Regions from separate parts of the Homo sapiens genome. Here all the other regions are linked to region 2. Evidence: promoter capture Hi-C in human tissues and cell types (Jung and others, 2019). All regions are on one chromosome and are shown on one strand. The core of a region is centred on a gene start or on the middle of the fragment in contact, and the rest is flanking DNA. Distances in the headings are between cores, read along the strand shown.

Evidence for each region. The method cuts DNA at HindIII sites, captures the fragments that hold promoters and counts their contacts. A contact is called where the count stands out against the background at its distance.
Region 1: the fragment with the promoter of NTN5 here is called in contact with a fragment that was not itself captured in region 2 in 2 of the 25 tissues and cell types used here (dorsolateral prefrontal cortex and stomach).
Region 3: the fragment with the promoter of FUT2 here is called in contact with a fragment that was not itself captured in region 2 in 6 of the 25 tissues and cell types used here (bladder, dorsolateral prefrontal cortex, lymphoblastoid cells and 3 more).
Region 4: a contact is called between the fragment with the promoter of FLT3LG here and a fragment that was not itself captured in region 2, in 1 of the 25 tissues and cell types used here (dorsolateral prefrontal cortex).

Annotation. Positions count from the first base shown.
Region 1 is chr19:48,671,264-48,676,343 of GRCh38, reverse strand. NTN5 (netrin 5) reads left to right here and starts at 3,327. Exons shown (of 7, transcript NM_145807.4): 1 at 3,327-3,412. It overlaps LOC105372431 (a long non-coding RNA gene), which reads left to right. Exons shown (of 3, transcript XR_936016.3): 2 at 713-1,103; 3 at 2,557-3,198. It also overlaps the pseudogene SEC1P. RefSeq lists a silencer at 699-848 and enhancers at 474-1,121, 1,122-1,770. The HindIII fragment of the contact is 16,713 bases long and covers 1,535-5,080 here.
Region 2 is chr19:48,987,240-48,991,985 of GRCh38, reverse strand. GYS1 (glycogen synthase 1) reads left to right here. Exons shown (of 16, transcript NM_002103.5): 2 at 503-684; 3 at 4,601-4,746. Among named protein-coding and RNA genes, the nearest start is that of GYS1, 3.7 kb to the left of the region's middle. RefSeq lists an enhancer at 1,830-2,221 and a silencer at 3,352-3,534. The HindIII fragment of the contact is 7,422 bases long and covers 1-4,746 here.
Region 3 is chr19:48,692,025-48,697,237 of GRCh38, reverse strand. It overlaps FUT2 (fucosyltransferase 2 (H blood group)), which reads right to left and starts at 1,267. Exons shown (of 2, transcript NM_000511.6): 1 at 1,149-1,267. RefSeq lists enhancers at 305-868, 1,433-1,996. The HindIII fragment of the contact is 31,324 bases long and covers 1-5,213 here.
Region 4 is chr19:49,472,903-49,477,763 of GRCh38, reverse strand. It overlaps FLT3LG (fms related receptor tyrosine kinase 3 ligand), which reads right to left and starts at 3,549. Exons shown (of 9, transcript NM_001459.4): 1 at 3,483-3,549; 2 at 3,092-3,161; 3 at 1,963-2,073; 4 at 1,566-1,619; 5 at 1,198-1,341. The coding sequence starts at 3,124. RefSeq lists an enhancer at 1,593-1,772 and a silencer at 3,091-3,170. The HindIII fragment of the contact is 13,748 bases long and covers 1-4,861 here.

The DNA of each region.
Region 1 (5,080 bases), core at 2,078-4,577, 320 kb after region 2:
GCCTCACCCCTCCCGGCTCCCCATCTCTCCCTCCGCCTGTCCTCTTAAACATCGGGGGCCTACAGGCCTCTTCAACTGTCATCCTCCTCTATTCCAGGGCTCCTCATTTGGTTCATCTGGCCCTTCTGAGAAGCCTGAACAATCTGGGGCCCTCCAGGCCTCTTCAGCTGTCATCCTCCTCTATTCCAGGGCTCCTCATTTGGTTCATCTGACCCTTCTGAGAAGCCTGAACACTCTGGGGCCCTCCTTGAAAGTCTCGTGTGGGTCCCCAGCAAGGCCAGCTGGCCTAAGGCCTAAGAAAAATGCTCCTGGTGCTGCTTTAGTTTGCAAAAAGTGAATTAAATCTGCCCAAGCCTTTTTTCACTGAGCTGGTGAAAACTGTGTCCCAAACATGATCTTGCCATCCACTCAACTCAGGGTCCTGCCCCACGGAGAAGGAGCTGAGCTCTGAGCCCAGCTGGAGCCCCCAGGCAGGTCCCAAGGCTAGAGCTGGGGTCAGTGGGGGTGCAGGGCAGGGACAGGAGCCTGGGTCACTGGCCAAGGGAAACCAGCTCAGGACAAGGGTGCCCCCCGCGGGGTCCGCCTTCATTTTGTGTGACTCGTGCAGTTGCGCTGAGACAGGCCCCACGCTTGCTTTAATGATCTGGTGTTGCCGTCTTAAAATCCTTCATAAATTCTAAACAAGGGGTCCTGTGTCTGCATTTTCCCCCAGGCCCTGCAGATCAAGCAGTGGGTACCGCGGCTGCTCTGGCTTCTCCTGGAATCTCAGGTGCTCCCTCTTGTGGCTGTTCTCAGCCTAGACAACCAGAAAGCCGCAGAAAAGCACCAGCCAAGGCCGAGGCTGCGAGGGTGCTGGCGGGCAGGCCCATCACGGGGCTGGCTGTCCTGGTCCGCGATTCCTTGTCAGCCATTTTCCTCAGGGGGAGCGGCAAACGCCAACCTGGACTGAACTCATCTGGGGACAACCCTGGCTTGGAGGAGGGTCATGTGGCTATTTGCAGACTTTACTTCTCTTACTGTGAACACCCATGTGCTCTGCTGCCTAAAACATAACATGTTTGACAATGTGATGCGGCCCAGACCTACCATGGATGCCATGTCACGTACGTACTATGCATCCGACAACAGGGCCAGGAAGCAGAAGGTTCCGGAACACGACTTTCCCAGAGAGCTCAGATAAGAACCCGTGGGCATGTCAGCTCATTCAGTCCTCATGACCCCCTCCGCCCACCATGAGGAAGGTCCATTCTTTCTTCCTCATTTAACAGATGAGGAAATGAAGGCACAGAGAGGTTAAGAAGCTTGTTCTCGGTCACACAGCTAGGACAGAGGTGGATTTGAACCCAGGCAGTATGGCTGGGGTTACCATCCTGGCCTTTTTGAACATGTCCGGGAGGGCAGGCCCTACCCAGCCACACAATGCCCAGTAACTCCTGCGGGTGACCTGCCCTGCCTCGTGGAGACTCCGTTATATCTGGGCCACCAAGGCAGGGGTTAGAGGTCTGTGTGAGCCCAGCACTGAGGTTCTCTCTGGGTTGAACCCACCTCAGAGATGTGCCTTGGGCAGGCCTGGCCTTCTGTAGAAGCTGTGAGGGTGAAGGTCTCCAGCCCTTAAAGAACTCTCCCCAACAAAAAAAACAGTCTCCTTCCCAGCTTGGGGCACTATGTGCTCGGCTGTGGCAGCTCCGTCTGTTCTTCCCCGCCTGCCCCCGGGCACCCGCAGGGGCGCCCATCAACTCAGGCAGCTCAAGCTGCAAGGAACAAAAGCTTCCCTCCAGGAGCCGGAGCTTGAGACTTCGCCCAGGTGGGGAGGAAGACGCAGCGAGACCTAAGCCTTCTTCCTCAGTTTTGTGTGGCAGCAAAGCTGGGTTCTGTGCTGGCGGTGGGCTCAGCACAAATGCCCCTCCGCATCACCCCACTTACATCTGCAATCCCCGGGCCCCCGTGGCCGCCCCCCCCACTTGCTTTGCTCCAAGGCACTTGGCACCTTCCAACAACCTAGAGCACAGAAGGACCTGCGCTGCTGGGGTCTCCCCCTCCCTCTCTGGACACTGAGCCTGATGGGGCAGGGGTCTGTGTTCCCAGCGCGAACCCCCGGCAAAGTCCCATACAGGGGGAGCTCAGGCAGGGTCAGCGGAGGGACCTGCGCCTGAATCCCGAAGTTCCACTCTGACTCACACAGCCTGGGCCCCCAGCTCTGACATGCCCCCTCTGATGGGGGGCGTCTCAGCCCCATTCCATCCTCCTGCAGCTGATGCACCTCCCAGCTTTCGGAGTGACTCCCTTCTTTCAAATCCGATGTCCCTGTCCTGCTCCTGCCAAATCTGGCCCCCTCCAACGTGGTACCTAAGGGTCCAGAGTCGAGGGTCGCCTTTGCTGTGCCCTCGCACCCCCTGGGGGCGGGCCTGGGGCAGTGGGTCCCAAGCCTGTCAGGATTGGGCCCACGCTACACCACGATAAACGCTGGGGCCACCCAGGGCAGCAGGTGCCGCGCCCCAACTCCATGAGGCCCTTGCTTTTCTCAGCGGGAAGTGACAGAAAACATTATTTTTCTAGTCAACCCATTCGGAGATGGAATAGAACAGACAGCAACATTCGCATGAAAATGTCACGATGAAAGCACTGAGGACTCGCAGGACACCAGCGGCACTGGGGAGGTGCTTTTGAGCTTGGTCCCCCGCACCCCGGGGGTCCCCGCCTTCTCCCTCTGCCGCATGAGAAACACTGGGGCCCAGGTGTTCTCAGCTCATTTGTCGCCTTCCCCACCATCTTAGAAAGCGACTGAGGTCTTTTGAATTCCAGGGGCTGGTCTGAACCTTCCAAGAGCACAGATTTTACTGACCTTAAGGCTCGGTGAACCCACAGCTGACAAAAGGTTCCAGAGAGGAGGAGGAGGGGCTGGCTTGGGGTCACGCAGCCAGAGGCAGGGGCTGAGCAAAGTTTCCAACAGCGATTGTCTCCCAAAGGTCAGCCCCTGCCCGATCGCGATGGCGGCCACCACAAGGCGGGGCTGAGCCAGTGGGCAGGGGTGGAGTGGGATGGAGCGGGACCCCCGACTGACAGCCTCCCGTCCTACCTGCGGTGAGCCTCCTAGGCCAGGCTGCTCGGGGCTGTCCTGCTGCTGGACCGCCGGGGGCAACGGCACTCACGTCCCACACCGTTGCGGGTGGCCTGGCTGGCAGGGGTCCCTGTGGGGATAGCGTGGCTGCGGTTGGTGAGGGATTGGGGTGGGAGGGGGGTGGCGGTGTTAGATTCTGCGGGCTCTGCTCTGAGCCCCCGCCCAGCCCAGAAACCCCACTAGCCTGGGGCCTGAGAACAGCCACGCCACTCCCTCCTGAGAGCCCACCGCGCCACAGCTTGGAGGAAGAGCCTGCGGGGAACTGGCTGCAGGACGCTCTCTTCTTGAGTGCAGGTTTGGCCAATGTCGGGGCCTCAGGGCTCGGGTTGGGGGGTGCATGCCAAGAGCCAGGGAAAGGAAGCCTGGGTCCCAGATGGACCCCAGGCCGCCCAGGCAGGCCTCCTATGAGTCTGCTGGGAGCATGGCTGGACTCTTTCTTAAAGAGGGGTATGGGCTCTCTGTGGGCCACGACTGGTTTCTGGATCCCCCAGGAACACTAGGGAACTCACAGCCTGGTTCCTCAAGGTGCTAAGGGCCAGAGGGTGCCACCCCCTGAACTATCCAGCAACTATCCAGAGAGAAAGGGGACATGGGGGACTGGCCCTTAACAGGATGCTGCTGAGGGCCAGGCAGGCGGCTGCCACCTGAGTGGGTGCAAAATGGCGCCAGGCTCCTTGGGAGGGCGGAGGGCGAGGCCTGTCATCTGGGCCAGGGGAGGCAGCGTCTGCATGTGGCCAACAGCAGTGGGGACATGGGCAGTGAGGCCAGGCTGGGGCAGGTGTGGCCCACCTCAACCGCCAGGGTGCCCCAGAGATGCCCAGCCCAGGGACATTCCTGGGCGCAGATTCAGAGCCAAGGGCCTGGAAAGGCTCCGAGGCCCCCAGTCCACAGTGAGCTCCTCACCAGAGGCTGCTGGCCCTGGAAGGGGAAAGTGGGGGCATTTCAGAGTCCAGTCCTTCCCAGCTCCTGCCATTCCTAGGGTCTGGGCTTCTGCCCCCACGGGCGCCCTGGCATCTGGCACCCCACCCTGTCCCAGCTCCTGCCTTCCTGCCTCTCTCCTCCTCATTACCCACCGCCCCCAACATCTGTTCCCCCATCTGCTCTGGGGAACTCTGGATGGGTGGAGAATGTGGGGACTCTGGTCTCCAGGCCCTGAGGCCCAGAATAGAGGGCAGGGTTGAGGTGAGCAGAAAGTCCCAGAACGCTAACTTCCGGTCCCCACACCCTGAGTTCTGAAGGGAACCCAGGTGTCTGCTTCCCCTGACCCCATGGGGATCCCACTGTCCCGCTCCCAAGCCCCAGAGCCACCCAGGTTCCAGCTCCCAGCATCCCTTTCCTCAGCTCAGCTCTCTGGGCTTTGCACTCGGGTGGGAAAGGGTTAAGGGTGGGGCGCTGGGGGTGGGTGGGCGGGTGGCAGGGAGGCTGGGTTGTTTGGTGATAATCCCCTTCCGTGCCCAGGGTGTGGAGAACAAGGTTAGGGCCCCATGTGGGAAAGGCAATGGCTCTGATCCCTGCAGGCCTGGGCCTCGGTCTCTCACTTCTGATCCCCCGCCAGACACCCCTAGCCTGTCCCCTTCCCTCCCCTCCCCAGGGCCTGCCAGGCTGGGTGTCTCTGAGCCCACCTGCCCACCTATCCCAGCCCCCAGGCAGTCCGAGCCTCAGTCTCCCAGCTCCCTGTGGCCTCTGGGTGCCTGGCCTCTGTCTCAGCCTCTCAGCCTCCTGTCTGTTCCTCTGTCTTTGCAGCAACTTCTCTGTGCCGAGCGCCTCCCCTAGGCTGACTGTCCTCTCTCTGCCTCTGTCCTGTCCTCTATTTCTTTGTGACTGAGTCTTCATCTGTCCCTAAGCCCCCTCTCCTGCCCAGCCCTGCTTGTCTCTGTGTCCCTCTCTAGGTTTCCACGTCTGCTGGCCTTGGCCAGCCCCTCTGCTCCAGCCGCTCACCGCTCCCCAGGGCCCCCTGCCCCT
Region 2 (4,746 bases), core at 2,015-4,514:
GGAATGACCATGCAGGCTTCTCTTGGGCAATGGTGAGAAGCTGGATTGGCCATGAGGGGGTCTCCCTCACTGGGTTTTGGAGCCTGGCTGCGATTTAAACCCAGCTCCTGTGAGCTGGGAACTCGGGAACCTGAGTCCGGGTAGTCAGTCCTCAGCTCTGCCATCCTTAGAGCCCCAGTGCCTAATTCCTTCAGACCAAGGGGTCCCGGCACCCAGCCCCTTCTCTCTCAGACCCAGAAGTCTAGCCTGAGCCCCCTCCTCCTTCAGGGTCCTGACCCCAGCCCCCTTCTCCCTTAGACCCAGGAGGACTGCCCTCCAGCCCTCGTGTTCCCCTCATCCAAGCTTCCAACCCCTACTCCAAACTATGGGCTCCCAGTCCCCTCTTCCCCCTGAGCTAGAGGTCTGGGGCCTGAGTGCCCCCTACATCCCCGGCCCACCCCACCCCAGGCCCCAGAACTATGGACCTCGGCCGGGGCCTGCCCTCACACGCTTGGGCCCACAGTGGGTGGCATCTACACGGTGCTGCAGACGAAGGCGAAGGTGACAGGGGACGAATGGGGCGACAACTACTTCCTGGTGGGGCCGTACACGGAGCAGGGCGTGAGGACCCAGGTGGAACTGCTGGAGGCCCCCACCCCGGCCCTGAAGAGGACACTGGATTCCATGAACAGCAAGGGCTGCAAGGTGGGACGTGGCCCAGCCCAGGGCAGAAGCGGGTGGACAGCCTGCCATCGGGGTGGGAGCCACAGACGGAGAGGGTGCAGGGTGGACAGCCCCAGCCAGAGAGCGAGGCAGGCTTGGACACAGGAAGGAGGCGTGATAGGACACCCAGACAGATGCAGGGCCTGGAAGTGGGTGGGTGGATCCCAGACATGGGCGAATGGACAGACAGATGGCAAGTATGAGACAGACTGAGACGGAGATCCAAGAGGCCAAGGTCCTCAGACCCAGAGAGAAAGAGAGCAAGATCGAAAGACAGCCTGGTCAACATGGCGAAACCCCGTCTCTACCAAAAATACAAAAATTAGCTGGGTGTGGTGGCGGGTGCCTGTAATCCCAGCTACTCGGGAGGCTGAGGCAGGAGAATCGCTTGAACCCGGGAGGCGGAGGTTGCAGTGAGCTGCGATTGGGCCACTGCACTCCAGCCTGGGCGACGGAGCGAGACTCTGTCTCAGAAAAGAATGCCAGCCAGCCAGGCAGAGCTGGGGAGAAGTGGGCCTGAGGTCAGGAAGGAGCAGGATTCTGGAGCTTGAAGTTCAAGTTCACCCTCCACTTGCTGCCTGTGTGTCCTTGGCTAATGGACATGCTAATAGCGTCTACCTTCTAGCGGTGCTGGGAGGAGGAAACAGTTAATAAGGACAAAGTGGTTAGTAGAGTTCTTGGCATGAAGGTAGCACATTGTGTGGGCGGTGATTGTCATTGTTATGATCATCGTCATTATTGTTACTAACAGCCAAGCTTGGAGAGTGAGGGGGACAGGCAGACCAAGGGAGAAGGGTGGATGGAGCCACAGGCAAGAGTAATAGACTGGGGACAGAAGAGAGGCCACCAGATGTTTCAGAAAGCCAGTCCTAGAAGGAGAGAGAAGCATGGAATATCGGGGAAGAGAGGAGAGGTCAGTGGACAGACCCACAGGACAGAGTCTGAGATGGGCAGATCAGGGATTAGAGAGGAGGGGGAGTTCCAGGGCCCCAGGGTGAAGACGGAAAGAGACACGCTGTTGTCCAAGGAGAAAGCCATCAGGCGGCACGCTGTTGTCCAAGGAGAAAGCCATCAGGCGGCAGGGCTAAGGGACAGACAGGTCCAGGCTGGGGATGGAGAGGCACTGTGGTTCCTTTACTCATTCACAGCCTCTGGTTTGGGGTGGGGTCTGGAATCCATTCAGGTCCGACTGTGTCCCTAAGGGAACCCAGAACAGCCCAGTCGCTTCCTGAGGGCAGCTGCTTCCCACGTGCTGGGGGCCTAAGAATAGCCCCCCCCCCCCCCCAGCAAAAGGGCAGACAACAGCTGGGAGGGGGAGGGACCTCAGAGCGAGGCTCCAGGCAGCAAAAAGCCAGGTCGGCGAGGAGCGGGGCTGCTTCTCCACTGCTGTGGCAGCAGGCCCAGAACCAAAGCCATGGTCTCAGGGAGGAAAACAGCCAACTGGAGAAATGTGGCAGAGGCAGAAGTGAGACAGCAAGTCTTAGAAACACGGCAGTGGCTAGAAAAATGCAGCCCTGGGGCACGGACAGAGGATGGGCTATGTTAGAAATGTGTGGCGTGGCCGAGGGCGGTGGCTCATGCCTGGAATCCCAGCACTTTGGGAGGCCGAGGTGAGAGGATAGCTTGAGCCCAGGAGTTCCTGACCCACCTGGGCAACATGGCGAAACTCTGTCTCTACTAAAAATACAAAAAATTAGCCAGGCATGATGGTGCGTGCTCGTGATCCCAGTTACTCAGGAGGCTGAGGTGGGAGGATGGGATGTGGAGGCTGTAGTGAGCCATAATTTTTTTTTTTTTTTTTTCAGATAGAATCTCACTCTGTCGCTGAGTCTGGAGTGCAGTGGTACAATCTCGACTCACTGCAACCTCCGCCTCCCGCGTTCAAGCAATTCTCCTGCCTCGGCCTCCCAAGTAGCTGGGACCTCAGGCACATGCTGCCACGCCCGGCTAATTTTTTGTATTTTAGTAGAGACAGGGTTTCACCATGTTGCCCAGGCTGGTCTCAAACTCCTGAGCTCAGGCAATCCGCCCGCCTCGGCCCCCCAAAGAGCTAGGATTACAGGCGTGAGCCACCGCGCCCAGCCCAGTGAGCCATGATTGCACCACTGCACTCCAGCCTGGGTGACCGGAGTGAGACCCTGTCAAAAACAAAAACAAACAAAAAAAAATGGAAGAAAGAAAGAAAAAGGAGAGAGGGAGGGAAGGAGGGAGAGAGGGAAGGAAGGAAGGAAGGAAGCAAGGAAGGAAGGAAGGAGGCTGTGGACTACAAAATGGGCCTATGGATAGAGGAAAGAGGTCGCAGGTGACAGATATGTGATGAAAGGAACAGAAACAAGGCATCATGGGGAAGAAAAGTGGCAGCATGAACAGTAAGAGAATCATTACAGGCTGGGTGCAGTAGCTCACGCCTGTAATCCCAGCACTTTGGTAGGCTGAGGCCAGGAGTTTGAGACCAGCCTGGGCAACATGGTGAAACCCTGTCCTTACAAAAAAGTTAAAAATTAGCCGGGATGTGATACCTTGTGCCTGTGGTCCCAGCTACGTGGGAAGCTGCGGTGGAAGGATTGCTTGAGCCTGGGAGATCGAAGCTTCAGTGAACCGTAATTGCACCACTCCCTTCCAGGCTGGAGGACAGAGCAAGACCCCGTCTCTGAAAATAAAAAAGGGCCTGCTTTAGGTGGCTCACACTTCTAATCTCAACACTTTGGGAGGCTAAGCAAGAAAACTGCTTGAACGCAGGAGTTCACGATCAGCCTGGGCAACATAGTGAGACCCCATCTCCACAAAAAATTAAAAAATCAGCCTGGCATGGTGGCCCACGCCTGTAGGAGGTGAGGTGGGAGGATTGACTGAGCCAGGGAGGTTGAGGCTATAGTGAACCATGTTCACACCACTGCACTCCAGCCTGGGCAACAGAGCGAGACCCTGTCTGAAAACAAAAAAGAAGCATCCCGTGGAAGGAATTAGCATCAGAAAGAAAAGACAGTGGGAGATGCAGATGGTTGGTAAGAGAAATGTGGCAGCAAGTACAGAAACAAGGCAGCAGGTAGGGGAAATGATTTGCAGAGTGGCCAGACAGGGCAGTGGGGGCATAGACACAGGACATGTGACATATGTGGTTATAAGCAGAGAAAGGAGGCAGCGAGTGGGAGAAGGGTAGCAGTTACAGGAATTAAACAGGAGGCTGGGTGCGGTGGCTCACGCCTGTAATCCCAGCACTTTGGGACGCCGAGGCGGGCGGATCACAAGGTCGGGAAATGGAGATCATCCTGGCTAACACAGTGAAACCTCGTCTCTACTGAAAATACAAAAAAAAGTAGCCGGGCGTGGTGGCGGGCCGCTGTAGTCCCAGCTACTCGGGAGGCTGAGGCAGGAGAATGGTGTGAACCCAGGAGGCAGAGGTTGCAGTGAGCCGAGATCATGCCACGGCACTCCAGCCTGGGCAACAGAGCCAGACTCCGTCTCAAGAAAAAAAAAAAATTAGCCAGGTGTGGGAGCGGGTGCCTGTAATCCCAGCTACTTGGGAGGCTGAGGCAGGAGAATTGCTTGAACCCGGGAGACAGAGGTTGCAGTGAGCTGAGATCGCACCACTGCACTCCAGCCTGGGCCACAGAGTGAGACTCCATCTCAAAAAAAAGAAAGAAAGAAAGTAAGCAGGGGGCACGGAAAATATTGCAACAGAGATGGAAAAAATGTGTAGCAGGAATAAATCATGCAAATAGAGAAGTAAGGCTAAGGCAGCAGGTGAGAAATTAGCAGCAGATATGGAAACAGAAGATAAGAGAGCTGAGGCTTAAGTCTATAGACATCTGCCTGCAAATGGGAGAACCACGGATGAGTGAAGATATGAGGCTGAAGCCCAGAGCCTCCCTATGGTGCCTCCCCAACCCCATCCCAGGTGTATTTCGGGCGCTGGCTGATCGAGGGAGGCCCTCTGGTGGTGCTCCTGGACGTGGGTGCCTCAGCTTGGGCCCTGGAGCGCTGGAAGGGAGAGCTCTGGGATACCTGCAACATCGGAGTGCCGTGGTACGACCGCGAGGCCAA
Region 3 (5,213 bases), core at 18-2,517, 290 kb after region 2:
GAGTAGCTGGGATTACAGGCATGCACCACCACGCCTGGCTAATTTTGTATTTTTAGTAGAGACGGGGTTTCTCCATGTTGGCCAGACTGGTCTCGAACTCCTGACCTCAAGTGATCCGCCTGTCTCGGCCTCCCAAAGTGCTGGGATTACAGGCGTCAGCCACCACGTCCAGCCCCGTCCACGTCTTTCTATTGCGGCCCGGCTTCCTCCTCTCCCCTCTGTCCCCTACACCCAGCGCCGGCCCTGCCCCTTCCCAGCTCGCAGCCCCTTCAGGGCTCCCTATGCCTCTTAAGACACAATCCCAGTCTCTCGCCGGCCCCGCACACCCCTCCGGCTTTGTCACCAGCTGTTCCCGTGAAATAACCCAGCTCTCCGCTCACCCGGGGCCCCGTCCTGTCCCCCAGCTCTGAAAGCCTTTCTCTACCCCAACCGCCCCGTGCCCCGGGCAGCTCAGCACATCCGGCTCAGTCGCACCCCACTGCCTCGAGCTCGCTGTCTTCCTGCACCTCCCCGGGATTCCCGGATTCCCGGCATTATCACTTCCACCCTGGGGAGGAGAAGGGAGCTTCAGACAATAACGTAGGGCCATCACTTGGAAACCCCACCTTTATTCTCCGACCCAGAACAGAAGCGGTGATTCAGAGCGGGATTAGGGAGTGCAGGAGGGACGGAGCCGCCCTCCCTGGGCGACGGCAGGGCTCGGAGGTGAGACCAGCAGTTTGGGTTCCATGAAGCCTCTGAGGAGCCCCAGGGTGGAGGCAGGAAAGTCGGGTCACCACCAGCTGTGCGCGAGCCATCTGCACCATTACTGCCAGGGTGGTTCATAGAAACTGCTGAGGGGAAGGAGACAAGGAAGGACCTGGTGGCCCGGGGTGGAGAAGGGGAGGGAGCTGGTGGTTGGAGCTCTAGAAACAGATCCACCTGGAAGGAAGTGGGGAGGGAGCTAAGGAGGGCGGCTGGCTGGGGAGGGGGGTCCTGGCTGCCGAGGGAGGGACCCTCCTCTCCTGGAGGTCCTGAGTTGGGGGTGCCTCCCAGAGGGCACCAGGGACCCACGAGGGCACACAGGTCCACGTCCCAAATCCCTGCTCTCCGCCTGGGCGTGTGTGCAGAGGTGTGCGTGTTGTAGGGTGGGAGAGGAGCCCCCTCACCTTCTCTCACCTGGTCCTGCTGAAGGAAACCGGGACAGAGTGGTTGGGCAGGCACCTCAGTGTTCCCTCTGGGTCTCTCTTCACTCAGGGCCAAAGAAACCCTTCCAGCATCGGTGACTGGCAAACCCCGCCCAGGAGCTACAGGGCTTTCCAGAGCAGGTGTGGCTGGGCTGCGGGAGGGAGGTGAGCCCGTAGCCCCTCCTCCCTCCCCATTGCCGGCCACAAAGTCCATCTTGTTATCTACCCTTAGCTCCTCCACCTGCACCAGGCACCCCAAGCCTGGCCATAAGGGTGGGGGAGAGAGGCAGGACAAGGTCGCATCCCCCATCCGGGTCCCCGAGGGTCTTCCTTGGGGAACTGTTGTGATGCCCCAACAGAAAGGGGCCCCCACTCTGCTCCGCTCCTCCAGGCAGCCAGGAAGGCCTCCAGGAAGGCAGCATGGAGGCGGGGGACAGAGTCCTGCTAGGCCAGGCTCTCGCTGACTCTGAGTCCCCTCAGAGTCTTATATTTATTTATTAATTAATTATTAGTAGTATTACTTTTTGAGAGAGTTTTGCTCTTGTTGCCCAGGCTGGAGTGCAATGGCGTGATCTCAGCTCACTGCAACCGCCGCCTCACAAGTTCAAGGGATTCTCCTGCCTCAGCTTCCCAAAGTGCTGGGATTACAGACGTGAGCCACCTCGCCCTGCCTATTTCAAAAAAATTTTTAAATACAAATGGGCCCGGTGTGGTGACTCACACCTGTAATTCTAGCACTTTGGGAGGCCGAGGCAGGCGGATCAACTGAGGTCAGGAGTCAGAGACCAGCCTGGCCAACAAGGTGAAACCCCGTCCTTATAAGAATACAGAAATTAGCCATGGCCCAGCACAGTGGCTCATGCCTGTAATCCCAGCACTTTGGGAGGCCGAGGCAGGTGGATCACCTGAGGTCAGGAGTTTGAGACCAGTCTGGCCAACATGGTGAAACCCTGTCTCTACTAAAAATGCAAAAATCAGTGGGGCGTGGTGGCATGCACCTGTAATCCCAGCTACTTGGGAGGCTGAGGCAGGAGAATCGCTTGAACTTGGGAGGCGGAGGTTGCAGTAAACTGAGATTACACCATTGCACTCCAGCCTGGGAAACAAGAGCAAAACTCTGTCTCAAAAAAAAAAAAGATGGATGAGGAATTTTACTGAGAGAAGAGGCAGGCACCACCAGAGCTCCCAGCAGTCCTAACAGGAGGAAAGAGAAACCAGCAGCCACTCCCCAGCTTCAGCTAAGCAGCAGGAGGCTACCTACCAGCTACGGAGCTCCCTTCAAACAAACAAACAAAAAAATCAGATCAAGCTTCCCACTCTAACCACCAGTTTGCAGAAAACAGGAGGACAAAGTTCCCAGTGAAACGACACCATGAGGCAGCAATCAGCCCAGTCCAGAATGTGAGCCCGTCCACAGGACAAACGACCTGTTTCCCTGTGATTCAGCGACAAGGAAAAAAGAAACAGGGTGGGGCGGGGAAGTGGGGAGGTGAGCTGTCATAAAATATGCAAAACAGGCCAGGTGTGGTGGCTCACGCCTGTAATCCCAGCACTTTGGGAGGCTGAGTCGGGCGGATCACGAGGTCAGGAGATTGAGACCATCCTGGCTAATACAGTGAAACCCCGTCTCTACTAAAAATATATATAAAAAAAAAATTAGCCGGGCGTGGTGGTGGGTGCCTGTAGTCCCAGCTACTTGGGAGGCTGAGGCAGGAGAATGGCGTGAACCCCGGGGGCGGAGCTTGCAGTGAGCCGAGGTCACACCACTGCACTCCAGCCTGGGCGACAGAGCAAGACTCCCTCTCAAAAAAAAAAAAAAAAAAAAAACGCAAAACAGATTTGGGGCTCAGAGGCTTAGACTTTCCAACTCCATGAATGTCCCACAGATGTTCCAAAGTCATGGGAATGACCTGGGCGCAGTGGCTCATGCCTGCAATCCCAGCACTTTGGGAGGCCGAGGCAGGAGGATCACCTGAGGTCAGGAGTTTGAGACCAGCCTAGCCAACATTTTTTTTTAGTGAAACTCCATCTCTACTAAAAATACAAAATTAGCTGGGCATGGTGGTGCACGCCTGTAATCCCAGCTACTCAGGAGGCTAGGGGAGGAGAATTCCTTGAACCTGGGAGGCAGAGGTTGCAGTGAGCCGAGATGGTACCACTGCACTCCAGCCTGGGTGACAGAGCAAGACTCTGTCTCAAAAATAAAACAAAGTCCTGAGAATGCAGGACAAACCTTCATTGCGTAACTTTTATTGTCGCTGACCCCAGCCGCGTAAACGCTGTGGTAGCATCCTAGGACCTCCACTGTGACAACTAAAAACAACCCCCACAGATTCCCATAACTCCCCCAGGGGGACAGCACTCCGGAATTCAGGACTGTTGCCCTAAACCCTCTGTTTTCCATTTCAGCTTTCCCTTACTGGTGCACGCCCCCATGCTTGGCCACCACGGCCAATTTCAAGCTACCAATAAGAGATCATTGAACATGGAATTGGAAAGAAACGCACAGTAATACATTGTTCTATAGTAAGTCTTCTTACTATGGTAAACACTTACCAGCCAGTTCTCTGGAGAAAAAAACACACTGTATGTTAGTATCTGCCAATCTGTGTGCCAATCAATGTATGTGCTCACTGCAACCTCCGCCTCCTGGGCTCAAATGAGTCTCCTGCCTTGGCCTCCTGAGTAGCTGGGACTACAGGTGCCCGTCACCACACTCAGTTAATTTTGTGTTTTTTTGTAGAGATGGGGTCTCACTATGTTACCCAGGCTGGCCTCGAACTCCTGAGCTCAAAGCGATCCTCCTGCCTCAGCCTCCCAAAGTGCTGGGATTACAGGTATGAACCATCTTGCCTGGCCTATTTACATTTATTATGTCTGTGTAATAGGCTTGCTATAGAACAATGTAATACTGTGCATTTCTTTCCAATTGCATGTTCAATGATCTCATATTGGTAGCTTGAAATTGGCCGTGGTGGCCAGGCATGGAGGCATGCACCTGTAATCTCAGCTACTCAGGAGGCTGAGGCAGGAGCATAGCTTGAAGCCAGAAGTTAAAGACCAGCCTGGGCAACATAGCAAGACCTTGTCTCTCTACAAAAAATAAAGAAAATTAGCCAGACATGGTGGCACATGTCTGTAGTCCCAGCTACTTGAGAGGCTGAGGCAAGAGGAGCCCAGGAGGTCCAGCGTCAGCTATGATCCTGACGCTGCACTCCAGCCTGAGTGACAGAGAAAGACCCTGCCTCTGAAAAATTAAAAAATAAATCTGGGCACAGTTGTTCACGCCTGTAATCTCAGCACTTTGGGAAGCTGAGGCAGGCAGATTGCTTGAGACCGGGAGTTCGAGACCAGCCTGGCTAACATGCTGTAACCCAGTCTCTACTAAAAATACAAAAATTACCTGGGTGTGGTGGTGCACACCTGTAGTCCCAGCTACTCGGGAAGCTGAGGCATGAGAATTGCTTGAACCTGGGAGGTGGAGGTTGCAGTGAGCTGAGATCACGCCACTGCACTCCAGCCTGGGTGACAGAACGAGACTCCATCTCAAGAAAAAAATAAGAAAAGTTTTTTTAAACACAAGTGTGTGAGGGTGGCTGTCCAGGGACACAAGGACACCGAAGAATGGTGATCAGTGCTTCCAGTATGGGGAAAAGTGGAACTCATTTATACAGGTAAAAATGGAGAGGTCAAACGCAGTGGCTAATGCCTGTAATCCCAGCACTTTGGGAGGCCAAGGCAGGTAGATCGTTTGAGGTCACGAGTTTGAGACCAGCCTGGTCAACATAGTGAAGCCCTGTCTCTACTAAAAAAAAAAAAATACAAAAATTAGCTGGCTGTGTGGTGGTGAGCACCTGTAATCTCAGCTACCTGGGAGGCTGAGGCAGAAGAATTGCTTGAACCTGGGAGGCAGAGGCGGGGTGGGGTGGAGGTTTCAGTGTTCCGAGATCGCACCACTGCACTCCAGCCTGGGCAAAAGAGCAAGACTCTGTCTAAAACAAACAAACAAACAAAACAAACAAAAAACCAACAACAACAACAACAAAA
Region 4 (4,861 bases), core at 2,300-4,799, 490 kb before region 2:
TTATTTTATTTTTATTTTTTTGGAGATGGAGTCTTGCTCTGTCGCCCAGGCTGGAGGGCAGTGGTGTGATCTCGGCTCACTGCAACCTCTGCCTCCTGGGTTCAAGCAATTCTCCTGCCTCAGTCTCCCAAGTAGCTGGGACTACAGGTGCCCACCACCATGCCTGGCTAATTTTGTTTTTGTATTTTAGTAGAGATGGTTTTCATCACGTTGCCGAGGCTGGTCTCGAACTCCTGAGCTCAGGCAATCCACCCGCCTCAGCCTCCCAAAGTGCTGGGATTACAGTCGTGAGCCACCATACACGGCCTATTCTATGTTTTGAGACAGGGTCTTGCTCTGTCGCTCAAGCTGGAGTGCAGTGGCCCAATCATAGCTCATCGCAGCCTCGACCTCCAGGGCTCAAGTGATCCTCCCACCTCAGCCTTCTGAGTAGCTGGGACCACAGGTGGGCACCACCATGCCTGGCTAATTTATTTTTATTTTTGTGCAGAGATGAGGTTTCACTGTGTTACCCGGGCTGGTCTTGAACTCCTGGGCTCAAATAATCCTCCCACCTTGGCCTCCGAAAGTGCTGGGATTACAGGTGTGAGCCACTGCACCCAGCCCTCAGAGAGAGGTTTTTGTTTGTTTGTTTTGTTTTTGAGACAGTTTCACTCTGTCTCCCAGGCTGGAGTGCAGTGGCATGATCTCGGCTCACTGCAGCCTCTGGCTCCCGGGTTCAAGCGATTCCTGTGCCTCAGCCTCCTGAGCCACCATGCCCGGCTAATTTTTGTATTTTTAGTACAGCCGGGATTTCATCATGTTGGCCAGGCTGGTCTCAAACTCCTGACCTCAAGTGATCCGCCCACCTCAGCCTCCCAAAGTGCTAGGATTACAGGAGTGAGCCACCACGCCCGGCCTCCTCAGTTTAGAGACCCCTTCTCTCCCTGTTTTTTTTTGGGGGAAGAACCCCTCAGTGGCACCCTTCATCATGGCCTAGGAAACCGGGGCCCCAGAATGGGACCAGACTGCTCCCCATCACCGGTGCCTGGGGACGTGTTGTTCTGTAGGAACAGGGCTCTGCAGGGTGGCGCTTCTCGCTCTACCTTCGTTGGGTGGCTATGGTCCAAATCGCCAATAAGGCCTAGTGGAGCTTTACTTCTAATTCGTAGGAAGGCATCTCCCTCCCCTCACTTGTCCCCTAAGTTGAGGGCTGACCTGAAAGGCACATTTGGTGACAAAGTGTATCTCCGTGTTCACGCGCTCCAGCAAGCCTTGCATCTTGGACCCAGCGACAGTCTTGAGCCGCTCCATCCAGCGCTGTGCCAGGACCAGCCGCCAGAGGCCCCCGCAGAGCTCCTCCTAGAGGGGAGAACCCACGGGTCTGAGGGAGGAGCTGGGCACGGGGCTGCTGGGTCTGAGGGAGGAGGGGCTGGGCCGGGGCTCCTGGGTCTGAGGGAGGAGGGGCTGAGGACTCTGATTCCTGGGTTTGGGGAGGGGAGGGCCTGGTTATCCACTCGCCTCGGTGGAGCATCTTGAGTCTGTGGTCCCCACCTCCATCCCAGGTCCCTCCCAACATGACTTACGTCCTGCAGGTTGGAGGCCACGGTGACTGGGTAATCTTGAAGCAGGTAGTCAGACTGCGGGAGAAAACAGGATCAGGCCTGGCTGAAAACAGCGAGAAACAGAACTGTGGGGACCCAGAGGTGGCAGCAGAGATCCAGAGAGAGAGGGACAAGACCAAGAGAGGGGGAGCCCAGAAGAAGCCACAGAACCTTGCCCTTAAAAAGGGATGACACCCCTAAGCACAGTGGCTCACGCCTGTAATTCCAGCACTTTGGGAGGCCAAGGTGGGAGGATCGCTTGAGCCCAGGAGTTCAAGACCACCCTGGGAAACACAGGGAGAGAGACCCCATCTCTACTTAAAAAAAAAAGTGGGGGGAAGGGGGATCACATGAGGGGGTCCGGGGCAGCGCCGCTCACCAGCTCACGGATTTTGACAGCGAAGTCGGAGGAGATGGGGCTGTGTTGGAAGGAGCAGTCCTGGGTCCCACTGAGTCCCGAGCTCAGCAGCAGCAGCAGGAGGAGATAGGTCTGCAGGGGAGCGGGTGCTGGGGGAGCCCTCTGCTGTTCCACACACAGCCCCCTCCTCCGGGCTTCCCACCTGTACTGTTCTGTCTTCCCCGCTCCTCCTTCCCTGGGTGTCCTTCTGCCTCTTCCACACTTTCTGGAGACATGGCCCCATCTCTGCCTGTCTTTCCCGGTTTCTCTCTGCCTCTGGTCCAATGCTGTCCAGTTTGCATCCCCCTCTGCCCCACCCCTCTCTCTCCCCATCTCCCCCACTCTGCTGGTCTCTCTCCAACCACCTCATCTTCACGTCTGGTTTCCTCGCCCGGGTTCCTCCAGCTCTGTCCCTCCCTCTGCCTTCTACACCACTGTTGCCTGCTTCTCTCTTGATCTTGGTCCACGTCCTCTTCATTTGTTCTTGGCTCTGTCCACCTTCCCTCTCCTCTGTCCATCTCCCCCCTTTTCTGTCCATCTCCCCCTCCTCTGTCCATCTCCCCCCTCCTCTGTCTCTCTTCCTCTCCTCTGTCCGTCTCCCTCCTCCTGTCCACCTCCCCCTCCTCTTCATCTCCCTCTCCTCTGTCCATCTCCCCCTCCTGTCCATCTCCCCTCTCCTCTGTCCATACCCCCTCCTCTCCATCTTCCCTCCTGTCCATCTCCCCCACCTCTGTCCATCTCCCCCTTCTCTGTCCATCTCCCTCCTCCTGTCCACCTCCCTCCTCTTTATCTCCCTCTCCTCTGTTCATCTGCCCTCTCCTCTGTCCATCTCCCCCTCCTCTGTCCATCTCCCCGCTCCTGTCCATCTCCCACTCCTCTCTATCTCCCTCTCCTCTATCTCCCCCTCCTCTGTCCATCTCCCCATCCTCTGTCCATCTCCCCCTCCTCTGTCCGTCTCCTCTCCTATCCATCTCCCCTCACATCTGTCCATCTCCCCTCCTATTTCCTCGTCATCTGTCCATCTGTTCTCCCGTCCATCTCCCCTCATCTCTGCCCCATCCTGACATTGTGCCTCCCCTCTCCCCTGATCTTGTCCCTGGGGTTTACGCACTGTTGGGCTCCAGGCTGGCGCCAGCACTGTCATTTCGGCCGGGGGCCCCTCATGCCTCCTGTCGCCGGGTCTTGGAAGGGACAGAAGAACAAGTCTCGGACCCTCATGCCCCAGCCCCTGCCCTGCCCGCCCCTTTGCCTCCCCGCCCCTCCCGCGTCCCATTGATGTGGCTGAGTTTCCGCCCCTTCCTCCCCCAGGCTTCCTGCGTCTGCCCCAGTTACGGTGAAAACTCTTCATCTCCACTTCTAAGAACCTCGACGTCTGGTCCCCAGAACCCTCCCCAGGTTAGGGACCCGGGAACCCAGCCCCCCACCCTCTGCTCCCCCTGCCCCAGGAGTGGGGACCCTGGCTCCGCCCCTTGGGGACCTAGAGTCCAAGTCTCCTCACGCACCAGGCTTGCCCCAGTTGGGTGTGGAAGGGGCCAAGCCGGGTGACAGCCAGAGACCGAAAGTGAAAGGAAATTTTTGGGGGGAGACAGTCAAGGGGTGGAATCTGGGCCCAGGCGGAGCGCGCCCCCTGGTGGTGAGAGGCGGCCGCTCACGCCGCAGATGGCGCGTTCTCCGGACGCCCCGCAGCGGGGGCTGCAGTGGGGCTGACTCCCTGGGTGGCACGCCCAGTGCATGGTGAGCTGGGGCTGGAACCCGGATCTGTCTCTGGGAACTCGCAGTTGCTGTGTCTTACCGTCCTCCGGGCCCCAACTTTGCCCCGCCAAGGCTTGGCACACAGGACTCAGGATGCATCTTGTCACATTGGGCCTGGCAGGTGTCGCCCTAGCACTAGCTTTATCACTGTGGGAGCTTGGCCAGCCCCTTGACCTCTCTAAGCCTCGGCTTCTCCAACTCCAAACTGAGGGGTGAGGTGGTACATGAGACAAAATAGAAGCTCTCTTCCACATCTGTGGATCTCTGAATCTCTGAAGCATTTTTTTTTTTTAGATGGGGTCTCACTCTGTTGCCCAGGCTGGAGTGCAGTGGCACAGTCTCGGCTCACGGCAACCTCCGCCTCCTGGGCTTAAGCAATTCTTGTGCCTCAGGCTCCCAAGTAGCTGGAATTGCAGGTGCGTGCCACCATGCCCGGCTAATTTTTGTATTTTTAGTAGAGACGAGGTTTCACTATGTTGGCCAGGCTGATCTCGAACTCCTGACCTCAGGTGATCAGCCTGCCTCGGCCTCCCAAAATGCTGGGATTACAGGTGTGACCCATCACGCCCATCCTGAATCTCTTGCTCACCCATCTGATCCGTGGCAGACTGTCCTGAAACATCTGCTGCCCCCACCCCCCCAGCAGGAGGATTCGAGGTCCCATCCTGGGGAACTCGGACATGGCCACACTCACTTTGGCCAGTCACATGAGGGTGGAGGTGACAGGTGTCACTTCTGAATGGAAGTCTAAGGGACCGGGGAGTGGATGGTGGAGGATGCATGGAGAGAGCGCCTCTATCAGCCAAGTTTCCTGTGCCACTCGGAGGAGCACAGGGATCCTGCCAGCCCCGGATGAGCACAGGGAGTGTAAGCAACAAACTAATGTTGTGGTTGTGGCCCACGCAGATTCGGGGGTTATGTGTTACTGCAGCAAAGCCTCGCCCGTCCTGGCCTTCATCATCCATTTCCCTTCCCTGATCCCTCTGCCTGCCTCACTTCCTGTTCAGCCTGGGTTAGCTGCCTTGTCGCACCCAATGGTCAGACCTTCCATCTGGCTAGAAAGATTTAAATGAAGCAGAGAGGCAGAGATACAAGCCCCAATAGCTCATGTGGCCCATGGACAAAGGAC